Regions from separate parts of the Homo sapiens genome. Here regions 1 and 3 are each linked to region 2. Evidence: promoter capture Hi-C in human tissues and cell types (Jung and others, 2019). All regions are on one chromosome and are shown on one strand. Each heading gives the region's core, a stretch centred on a gene start or on the middle of the fragment in contact. The rest is flanking DNA. Distances are from core to core; before and after follow the strand shown. Region 1 has its middle 390 kb from the start of ATP5MC3. Region 2 holds the start of HOXD13 (homeobox D13). Region 3 overlaps LOC105373752 (a long non-coding RNA gene).

Evidence for each region. Contacts are between HindIII fragments. The study calls those that stand out against the background at their distance.
Region 1: a fragment that was not itself captured here is called in contact with the fragment with the promoter of HOXD13 in region 2 in 1 of the 25 tissues and cell types used here (aorta).
Region 3: a contact is called between a fragment that was not itself captured here and the fragment with the promoter of HOXD13 in region 2, in 1 of the 25 tissues and cell types used here (bladder).

What each region holds. Positions count from the first base shown.
Region 1 is chr2:175,572,990-175,577,185 of GRCh38, reverse strand. No RefSeq gene overlaps it. Among named protein-coding and RNA genes, the nearest start is that of ATP5MC3, 390 kb to the right of the region's middle. The HindIII fragment of the contact is 6,681 bases long and covers 1-4,196 here.
Region 2 is chr2:176,090,647-176,094,336 of GRCh38, reverse strand. It overlaps HOXD13 (homeobox D13), which reads right to left and starts at 1,616. Exons shown (of 2, transcript NM_000523.4): 1 at 666-1,616. The coding sequence starts at 1,446. The HindIII fragment of the contact is 2,672 bases long and covers 1-1,683 here.
Region 3 is chr2:175,469,972-175,473,683 of GRCh38, reverse strand. It overlaps LOC105373752 (a long non-coding RNA gene), which reads right to left. Exons shown (of 3, transcript XR_923596.2): 3 at 2,376-2,463. Among named protein-coding and RNA genes, the nearest start is that of ATP5MC3, 290 kb to the right of the region's middle. The HindIII fragment of the contact is 4,319 bases long and covers 51-3,712 here.

The DNA.
Region 1 (4,196 bases), core at 479-2,978, 520 kb after region 2:
TGTCCAGATAATAGGTGGCGGGTGACCCTGGAGGGCCCAGGCAAGCAGCCTGCATTACAGCAGTCCAGCCAGAGAGAGAAAACTCTGCTGCTGAATCAGTGGGGGTGGAGGCGAGGGGAACAGCAGGCACCCAGGGAAAGCAGCTGTGGCTAAGCCCGCAGGCAGGCCTAGGGCCTGCCAAGAAAGATTTGGCAGCTGGACATTATCTCAATAAGGACGGGGGTTCAAGAACACCCTGTTGGTCCTGGAGAGGGGGAGACTGATGGCTGGTAAGAATAATAAGAAAGGGCCCATTCCAAAAGAACTGGGAACAAAATCCTGGTTAGCAGGCTGATAAATCAGGCACAGAGGTATGAGACTAAGAAGCAGTTACTCAAACTGGGAAACAAGATGAGGTTCCAGAGCAGAACTGGAATGCAAGATCAGAGTGAAGCTGAGCTTCTGAACTCGGCCTGCTCCTGGAGATTAAAACTTTGGTCCACATATTTGAGTCATCACTGTCCATGTTCAGCCACTGGATTCTCCTATAATTGTCATGGAGTTGGTCCTAGGCTTCAGTGGTTTTTTTAAAGCTCTACCAGATCACTTTGGGAGGTGGATCACTTGAGCCCAGGAGTTCAAGACAAGCCTGGGCAACAGGTGAAACCCTGTCTCTACAAAAAATACAAAAATTAACTGCCCCTGGTGGTGTGTACCTGTAGTCCCAGCTACCCCAGAGCCTGGGGTGGGAGGCCTGCTTGAGCCTGGGAGGTAGAAGCTGCAGTGAGCCAAGATCGAGCCACTGCACTACAGCCTGGGTGACAGAGCAAGCAAGACCCTGTTTCAAAAAAAATAGAGGCTCCATCAGGTGATGCTAATGCACAGCCAGGGTTGGGAGCCCCTGGGCTACTCAAAGCCTCTGTTGGGCGTGGGGTAGGGGATAAAATCTGTAGCAGAGCCAAGGTCTGGTTGGGTCTACAGGTGAAAACCGGAAGCTCCAACTGTGGGGAAAGTAAACATGAAAGAGAAGAGAGCAGGGAGGAGGGTGCCAAGCAGATATGCAGGAGTTGCCCCGTGGCTGTCTGAACAGGAGCTCAGGGAAAAGCTAACTTGCTGAAAAATTCAGAGAGGTCTTTGCTATTCACCGGTATAAGCTAACACCCCCGTTGGGGAGCACTGGCTTAGCAAATATAGCTTTGTGTGTGTTAATTGCTTCAGTAGATGTAAGAAGCATGACAGGTATTCACTCAAGCAGAAAGAGCAGAATTTCTCAGATATCTTCCACTCATTTTATTCAAAATTGAAAGAATAGTCTGCCGTCAGCTGGGGCACTTTGCTCTGCACAGGAAACCAAAACCTTCATCACCCGCCTGATGGTCTCAAGCTGGAAACCTCAAGAAAGAAGCATGACACGGGCTGCTCTGCATATGGTCATTTCCACTATTAGAAACCCCAGTGTTAAATTTCGCTTTGAAACCATAGCAATAAAAAGGCCTGATTGACTTCTTTTTTTTTTTTTTTGCTTTGATAGTTTTCTAAGCAAAGAAAAAACACCCAAAGACCATTAGAAGAGCTTGAGACACTTTTGGTGGGAGACATATGATAGTGAATAAAAAAAAAACAACAACAGTGACTAGATTTGCCAGTGCTTACTGCCTTAGTCTGCTCAGGCTGCGATAACTAAATACCACGGACGGGGTGGCTTAAACAACAGAAACTTAGTTCTCACAATTCTGGAGATCAAAGTGCCAGCTGATTTGGTTTCTGGTGAGGGCTCTTTTCTTGGCTTATAGATGACAGCCTTCTCCCTGTGTCTTCACATGGAGAGGGAGGGAGGGAAGGAGAGAGAGAGAGACGTGTATGTGAGAGAGAGAGATGGAAGGAGGGAGAGAGAAAAAAGAGAGGGAGGGAGGTGAGGAGAGAGAGAAAAAAAATGGTCTCTTCTAAGGATACTAATCCCATGAGATCTAGGTGGCACCCTTATAACCTCACTTAACCTTTCTTATTTCCTAATAGGCCATATCTCCAAATTCAGTCAACATTGGGAGTTAGGGCATCAACATCAGAATTTTGGTGAGACATAATTCAGTCCGTAGCTCTTACTATGTGCCTGCATTGTTTTAAGAACTTTGTAGATGTTAGATAGTTTAATCCTCACAATCCTATGAGGAAGGTACTCTAATTATCCCCATTTTACAAAAGGGGAAACAGGCTTAAGAGGTTAACAACCTGCCCAATGTCACATAGCTGCAATTAATCTCTTTGAAGTATCAAACATACCAAGAAATGACCAGACTGGAAACGCTGCTGATACTTCCTCTGATCCTTACAGAATAAGTCCTCTTGGCTATGTCAAGTTACCTGAGGACTTGGAACAGCTAATAAGCTCTGACACCCATGATTAGGAGAGCTATATTAGAAATATTCAGTATTTATACCCTGTCTCTTCACAATGAACTGAAAGCTCAATTCAAATGCACAGTCTCATATTTGTTTATAATACTATATGACTACTATTAGAAAGTTGGATCCAGGAGCTTGGAAAGTGTCAGAGACTCTTAGAGAAGAGGTGGTGTTGAAATCTCGAGTCTTGAAGGATAAATGCCAGTTGACAAGAAAGCCCTGCAGGAAGGCCTTCCAGGCATGTGCAGGGAGGACATAGTGACATTAGAAGCCATCGTCCACAAGGAGTATTGCAAGGGGTTCCAAGTAGCTGGGCTAAAGGGGGCAGGTTGGGGAACCGCAGCAAGACAGAACCTAAAGTCTTATTTGGGAAAGGGGCCAAAGCCCAAGTCATGCAGAGCTTTCTTTGCCTCTCTGAGAAATGCTGCCTGCAGGACTTTAAGCTCAGGAACAACATGACAAGATTTGTGTCTCTGAAGGATAGTAGGAAGGCCAGAGATTTGAACCAGCAGGTTGAAGACTGGGGACTACTGTTGTAGATCTGAACAGAAATGCTGGGAACCTGAACTCAAGCACCAAGTACGGAGATGGGGAAGTCAGAGTGGAGTCTTGATATTTATAACCAAAATTTAAGAGGTAAATCCAGTGGTACAGTGGAAATTTGCTGTGCATTATCCGGTTATATGTAAATACAACCTCTTGAAAAACATTAAGCAGTTCTTTTCCCTACTAGCTTATGATAGATACTCTTTAGATATTTTTCATTATCAAAAATTATACAATTAGGGCCGGTCACGGTGGCTCACTCCTGTAATCCCAGCATTTTGGGAGGCCAAGGCGGGCGGATCACCTGAGGTCAGGAGTTCCAGACCAGTCTGGCAAACATGGTGAAACCCCGTCTCTACTAAAAATACAAAACATTAGCCTGGCAGAGTGGTGGGCGCCTGTAATCCCAGCTACTCTGGAGGCTGAGGCAGGAGAATCGCTTGAATCTGGAAGGTGGAGGTTGCAGTGAGCCAAGATCGTGTCATTGCACCCCTGCCTGGGCAACAGAGTGAGACTCTGTCTCAAAATAAATAAATAAATAAATGAATGAGTACAATTAGATTGTTGTTCCCATGTAGAGCTCTCCAGTTGCCAACGTGAACTGACCATAGTTACTGGATTGTTGAGTAGTTTACCTCCTATTATATTTGAGTTTCATGTATGCATTTCTTCAGACTTTTCTTAGTTCCATTGCTGTTGTAAGAAACAGGCCAGGAGAGATCAACAGTCAAAGCTGCCTCTAATTCTGTAGCAGCCTGAATCTATCTTCACCAGCTCCCCATTCCTCCCTCCTATCTTTCTCTAGCTGCTTCTTGGGACATTCTCTACTTTTCTTTTCTGGATTTGGGATTAATAGTTCTCTTACCTCCTTAGTTTGGTTGAGATGTTTGGAAAGTTTAAAAGAAACTTTACAGAGGACAGATTTCTTGTCATATATCAATGAGAAGTAGCCCCATAGATTTCCTTATGTAAGGCATAGCTTCCAGAATTTAATGTCAAAATATTTTGGCTTCCTGGAAGAATGTGCTATCACCTTTCTTAACACGTGACTGGCTACACTTTTTACTTTGGCTATCGAGAAGCTCATAGACAAATTTTGCACTCAGTGTAACAAATGTTAGAGCTTACTCTGGTTTTCTATACTCCAATTTCCCCTTTCCTTCAGTCCCTTTCTAAAAATTTGTTTTTTAAAGCTTATGATGTGTCATCTTAAATCCTTTCAGAGAAGTGGGCTATGGGTAAATTCTCCATAATAAATTCTTATCAGC
Region 2 (3,690 bases), core at 367-2,866:
TTTATTATGTACATAGACATAACACTTACCTGTTATTAAAGAAGGATTATTTGCACTTAACAACAATGGTTAATTTGATTGATTATCATAGTTTCTCAAACCGGCATCTTAACAAGCTTGCAATTTTATGGTGTGGTTATTGGGCACGTTCATGAGGACAGTTTCTGCAAATGTCGGTTGTATAAAAACAAACTTACATACATAGACACATACCAACTCAGGTCTTTTGCTCAAATTTTGATTTCCCGCGTTCCTATGTTAGGAGTTCGTGAGCTTGATCTAACAAGCTTTAGTAGTCATCTTGGGGCAGTGATGTCTTTGAAAATGGGGGGACCCAACTCTGTCAGGTTTCTTAGGAAAAAGTTCTCTTTAGGAGAAAAGGGAGAGGCCCAAGGAAAGGGCACGCAGAGACTCTCAACTTTAGGAGAAAAACGTGTCTGCGCTGCACACAGGAAAGAAAGGGCAGTGACGGAGGCAGTTGAAATCAGAGGAGGAATTTACAGATTTCACACGAACTGGACAAATTTCCACTGGGTTAACCCTGGTCACGTGTGGAGCACAGGCACAACTCCCACTCCCAAGTAGGGGCGCATACTCTTAGTCCTTTCTTTTCTCCTTCTCTCTCCCCCTCCCTCGTGTCGGTCCCTTTTCTCCATCGCCCCTACCTGGAAAGGAAGATTTCCAAAAGTGGGACCCCTGTGGCTGGTCCTTGGTGCAGTACACCTGGCTGTTCCACCCGTTAGCCAGCGTCCAGGACTGGTACCCCTCCATGGAGATGTAGGCCTCGTGCCGAGGCTCCCCGGAGCCGAAAGTGGACACCATGTCGATATAGCCGGGCACGTGCTGGTAAGGGCTCGTATAGCCCTGGTAGAAGGATACCTCCTTGGCTCGCGCTGGCACCTCGTTGGCCGGTACGCTGCTGCTCGCCAGGCCTGACACGTCCATGTACTTCTCCACGGGAAAGCCTCCCAGCGAGGCGTGCGGCGATGACTTGAGCGCATTCTGCTGTAAGCCCACGCCGTGCGACATACGGCAGCTGTAGTAGCCGTTGCCGAAGTGGTAGCCGTAGCCCAGCGCTGGAGCGCTCGGGGGCGCTGCAGCGGCCGCTGCAGGCGTGGGTGCTGGGCACTCTTTGGCTGGGGGAGCCTCCGGGCGCGCCGCTACAACGGCAGAAGAGGACGACGACGAGGAAGAGCCCGTGCGCTCAGAGGTCCCGGGGTACGCAAAGCCGGAGGCTGCCGCCGCCGCCGCCGCAGCCGCCGCTGCCGCCGCCGCCGCCCGCCCCGAATGCGTCCCGGCGAACACAGGCGCGGAGAGAAAGCCGCGGCACTGGCCTGACGCCGCCGCCGCCGCCACCGATGAGGAGGAGGAAGAGGCCGGGGCGCCACCGGCGCCCCCGCCGTCTGCCCGCAGCCCGTCCATGTCCCAGCTCCCGGCGCGGCTCATGGCCCGGCCTGGCCCGGCCCCGGCCCTGGCCCTGGCCCCGCGCAGGACACCATGGCGCGGCGCGCCTCCTCCCTCCTCTCCTTTCTCTCTGGTTCGCTCGCTCCCGCCCTCTTCCTCTAGCCCTCTCTCCCTCTGTGAGCCTCCCGCCTCCGGCCCGCCTGCCCTCCAACAGGTTAGCTCATCGCGGGACGTTTATAAAAACGAAGTTCAGGTTGGGAGGGGGCCTGGGCCGGTCGGGGGGCCGCCTCCCGCCCCGAGGGCCCCCGCCGGGGGCGTGCCATTGGCTGCGCGCGGCCACGTGGGGGTAGGAACGCGGGGGAGCCTGGCTCCCGGCCCAGGCCTGGCTGGACCCACCCACTCCGGCCCCCACCCCTCTCCTGCCCCTTGCAGGGTCCACCTCCCATTCCCGCCCTCCCCCCCGACCCAGGCGTACGCGCTGCAGCCACCCCCACGAGTTGATTGCGCGACGGCCCATCCCAGGCCCTGTCTGCGACTGAGGCGGGCGCCAAGGCCTGCGCCTTGTCTCGGCAACCGCTGTTTTTGCCACCTCTCCTCGGCTCCCCGAGTTGCACAGCAAAATGAAGACGAAGGACAGAGATGATCAGAATGATGTGAAAACAGGCCCATTTTTTTATCCTGTTGCTGAATCCCTCAGTTAGTCGACTTCTAGACCCCAAATCCGAGTGAGCTAATTTGCCCTACCTTGTGCACTGGTACCCGGCAAAGGCATTTCACACAGGTAAGAGGCATTGGAGCAGACCCTTCCTATACACACACGCTGTCCGTTCGGAAAATGCCCATGAAGCGCCCTTGGGGCTGGCGGCAGAGACTTAAACAGATGAAAGACAGGCATCGGCGCAGTGAGCCTGACAATCTGTCCCAGAAAGAAAAGTCCATGGATGCCTACTCAACGCTCTTCGCCTCTACTCTTGGGCCAGCCGGGAGTGCTTCCGACCTGGGCCTCTCAGCTCCCGCGGGTCCTTCTTCGACCCGCAGAAAGACCCTGAGAACGGCGCCGGGGGAGAAAGCCACTCAGCCTCCCACCGTGAAACTTCTGTGTCTCTCCAGCAGCCGACCGGCCTCGCATTTTGCAGTCACCACCCACTCCCGCCCGTTTCTCACACCAAATTAATTGAAAACTTCACTTTCCCAGGGACCTTTGTTTCGCTTCCTTTTCCAAGCTGTCAACTGCAGAGAACTGAGAGGGGCAAATTAAGAGGGCGCTTGTTCCAAGCAAATTCGGATTTTGTGATAGGAGCAGCCCAGAGAAACGGTCTGACTTCAAGGGGTTAGGTGGGCTCAGGGCAGTGCTGGTGGGGCTAGGTCCAGCTCTGGAACCAAGCTGCCAGGGTGTTAGGGATTACAGCCCTGTCCCTCATCATCCCTTTCTGTTGCTCCTCAGCCTCAGAGCTCCAGCCCACCATCCCTCAATCTCAGCAACTAATGGGGCACCAATGAGAGTCCTGCTGTGACTTTGGGGCTCTGCCTTAGGAACAATATTAGATCCAATGAGCCCAGGGTTCTGGGGGTGGATATGGGATCCTTCAGAGCCCATTTGGTTCTGTGGCATGCACTCCCCAAGCCAGCCCATCTCCAAGAAAATCACTCCCCTAAGCCTGTGATTGGTGAAAGCTTGTCACCCAGCACCACTGTTCCCCGACCAAAGATGCCCTGAGTAAGATGAGGAAGAGAGCCAGGAAGGCCCTCCTTGGCCTGGCCTGGCATTTCAGGGTAGGCTGCTGGTGTTAGGAGTGTTGACATGCAAAACGCAGTAACCATAAAAGGCTCAAATAAAGGGGAAAGTTATGAGAGGGGTGTTGGAAAGGAAAAGCAAGAGAATTCGTTTCATCGTTTTGAAGTTCTAGACATGTTCATGATCAAATTTGAGATGGGAGGGGCCTGAATTTACAGGAAATCATAGGGAATAGAAGTTTGCTGATGAGAAAATTTTTTTCACTATTTGGGAAAAGAAGGCAAAAGTCAGCAATGAAAGTTCAACCAGCATTTTAAAAAGGCCAACTGTGGCGAGGCGACAGGATTGCTAACTTTTAAAGAGGGTTTGGCTGGGTCTTTATGAAACAATTTTGGTACCAAACCACCAACCATGGGCCACCATGAAATGCTTTTATTTTCCCTTTGTCTCATTTTTTCTTCCTCAGACAGAGAAAACATGAAGATAGTTTTAACTTTTTATGACTCCAAAAAACAAATTCGTTGAAATATTTCTAAGATATAAGTAGAACC
Region 3 (3,712 bases), core at 961-3,460, 620 kb after region 2:
AAAACTAAATTTCAGAAAGTACATGTTTGCTTAGTTAAGAGGACAAAAGACTTTTTTTAAATGTCCAATATGGTGGTTTCCAGTATTCATGAAAGCTAACAAGTGGTTCACAATTCCAATAACTTCTATAAGAACACTGATTGCCCTTTTGCTGATAGGCATGGTCATCATTGCATGGACATATGAACATGTGGGCCTTTGATCATAGTTAAGAATCATTCAGTAATGAATATTAATTATCATATGTTACAAAATAAATCAGATACCAATAAAAATACAACACCATAGACTTACGAGGGGCCAGGAGATAGTCTTGGTCTCCTAACATGCCAAACACTGATTTAGCTTCTTGATTTCTAATATTCAATTTAAATTCCATAACAGTCCTTGAGATATGTGCTATTGTCCTTATTTCAAAGATGAGAAAATCGAAACTCAGAAAATCCAAATAAATTAATGCCTGAGTCTGGCCTTTTTGCCTCCTGTCTGGTGGACCACCTCCAATCTGTTCCCAGGCTTGGATACTCTTAGTGGATTCTCTTGACCTTTAGAACAAAGTCTAAATTCATTACCAAGTTTCTCAAGGTCCTTCATGATCTGGCCCCAATATTATCCTCTCAAACAGCAAACTTTATCAGTTCTCACCTCAAGCTCCACTCTCAATCACATTCAACTTCTTTCAGTTGCCTGAATATGCCATGCTTTCTTTTGCCCCTGGGATTGTGCTGATGCTGGTCTGTACCTAGAGCACCCTCAAACACACTTTTCTCCCCCTCTTTAATGATCTGGCTAATTCTTCCTGGATCTCCAAATCTGAACTTATGTATCTCTTCCTCCAGGAAGCTGCCTCTGAGCTCTGAGCACCTATTGGGTGATCCCCTACAAGATCGTCATAGTGTATAGGTGATCCCCTATAGCTCATCATACTGTCTCACATTCTGCCTTGTAATTAATTACCTGTTCACTTTTCTGTATCCCTCCCTTGAAAAAACATCTGTGAAGGCAGAAACTGAGATGGTCAGGTTCTCATGGTATCCCAGCACCTAGCTGTATGCAGTAGAGAATTGATATGTATCAAACGTCTGGATGATTATGAGAATGACATTGTACTTAGAGAATTTTATTTTAATGACAATATGGCAAAAATTCTATGGCAATTCCTTCTGAAAGCGCACTATTTAGGATGGCATCATGGCAGTTTGTTAGGGGATATGCAGAACCATAGGTGCAGTATGGCTTTCTAAACCATCCATGTTACTTGGTAAGTGATAAGGTTTGGCTCTGTGTCCCCACCCATATCTCATTTTGGATTGTAATCCCCATAATCCCTATGTGTGGAAGGAGGAACCAGGTGGGAGGTGATTGGATCATGGAGGTGGTTTCCCCCATGCTGTTTTGTGATAGTGAATGAGTTCTCATGAGATCTGATGGTTTTATAAGGCAGTTTTCCCTGCTCTTGCTTGATCTCTCTCGCCTGCTGCCATGTAAGATGTGCCTCTTCCCCTTCCACTATGATCATAAGTTTCCTGAGGCCTCCCCAGCCATGTGGAAGTGAACTGTGAGTCAATTAAGCTTCTTTCCTTTATAAATTGCCTAGTCTCAGGTATGTCTTTATAGCAGTTTGAGAACAGACTAATACACTAGGTAATTTTAAATATTAATTTTAAATTAAAAATACAGATACATAGACTAATGTGGTAAAATATAAGACTTCCAAGAAATTTTCCATTTTGAATTAGATCCACAGATATAGAGTGACAATCACTGTTCATGATGGTCAAACCTTAGTTACAAGGTCACAATCATTTGGGAGCAGGCTTTAAGATGAGCAATGTCAAATTTATAAGCCTCAAAAGGAAACTGTGTGCTTTAAGGAATATTTGAAGGTCAATTCTGCTTAATTTAGAGAAGACTGAAGAGAAATGTACAATCTGCGTTTACCTGTTCGGAGGCTGTTACCTAGAAGAGGGAGCACAGATGCATTATTAGAAATCCATCTTTAGAACAGAGAACCAGGACCATTGAGAAGAGGAGCCCAGATTCGGTTCAACATGAGAAAGGACCTATGAGTTGTCTCTGCATGGTAGGAATAGGGTAAATTTTTGTTTTCTTCTTGGTCCTCTTCTACATGACCTCAGTGTTCCATCAGATGAAATATTCAAAATGAATCCTTATAACAATTCATCAAGAGTACTACAAAAAGAATTCCTGGCTGGAATTATTTTTGGTGCAACGGCTCACACCTATAATCCCAACACTTTGGGAGGCCAAGGCAGGAGGATTGCTTGAGCCCAGGAGTTCAAGACCAACCTGGGCAACATAGTGAGGCCGAACTTCTAAAAAAAAAAAAAAAAGCCAGATACGGTAGTACTCACCTGTGGTCCCAGCTGGTCCAGAGGCTGAGGTAGGAGGATCAGTTGATCCCAAAAGGAGCGAGTCATGATCATGCCACTGCACTCCAGCCTGGACAACAGAGTAAGACCATCTCAAAAGAAAAACTCCTAATTTGTACAGAACACTACAATTTGTCTTTTCTTCTAGTGTTAAGATTATACAAATTTCCCATGAAAAAACTGAATCTAGAGAGTTTGTTTGTATTTGTTTAGGTTTACCACAGGTACAATCTGTGCAAAGCTTTTTTCTTTTTTTTCAAAATGGGATTACGTAAGTTGTTTTAGATTTGCAATAATCCATAGTTGGTGCAAAATAATTAATGCATTCCCATGGAAAGTGAAATTTTCCCAGACCCTATTCCATACAAAGATTTTAAAAGCACTGTACAAATATATTAATGGGATCACCCTATAATATCATTCTGTAACTTTTTCCCTTGACACTACATTATGGACATCTTTACTTGACAATACAATAGATGGTATTTATCCTTTTAAACAGTTGTATGATATTCACTGTCTGGATGCGGCACAACAAAAAATGTCATCTGTTCCCTATTGATGAACACTTGCTTTGCAGTATTGTTTGCAATTGCAAATATTTAATGATAAGCTTGTTTTATGAAAAGATTTTCCATGAAACAGACTAGGCCTCCATTCTGAGAACTGGTACCTCAGAGCACGCCTTAACAGTGTGCTGGGGAATGCTCAAAGCTATAGGCACAGTGTATCATCCTGGACCATCCATTTTACTCAATGATAAATAATTTAAAATATTAACGGTTTTAAAAAATAAAATACAATTCAGATCTATTATATGGAAAAACACAAAGTGTATACAGAACTTTCTATTTCTTTATGGCAAAATAAAGGACTTCAATAGCATTTTCCATTTTGAGTTAGGGACCCAGGCCCCCAAAGGTAAGTTGACTTTCTTCTGCCATTAGGGATATTCCAGTGGAAAATTCTGAAAAGGACTTATTTAGGATCTTGGAACAGTTTGAATGCCCGAGAGGATTCCAGACAAACTAGGGACTAATTATAATGGCTGAACTAGGTTCTTAAAATAGAAGTCAGCCAAGAGCTCTCAAGATGGGTTCCTCAAAGTTAATATGAGTACACAAAAAAGAGAGGAGGAGGAGGGCAGAGTGTGTCTCTATCAGCCGTGTACCTGGATCAAGTCCAGGTGCGAAAATTGGTTTGTGTGACGACTCGGAATAATTTTCTATGCTCACAATCTGGGAAATATAAGGTTATCTTTACTTTGGGCTTTTGTGGTTCTTTGTAAAGGAAGTCTCATTTTTGTGAGGCGAATAGAC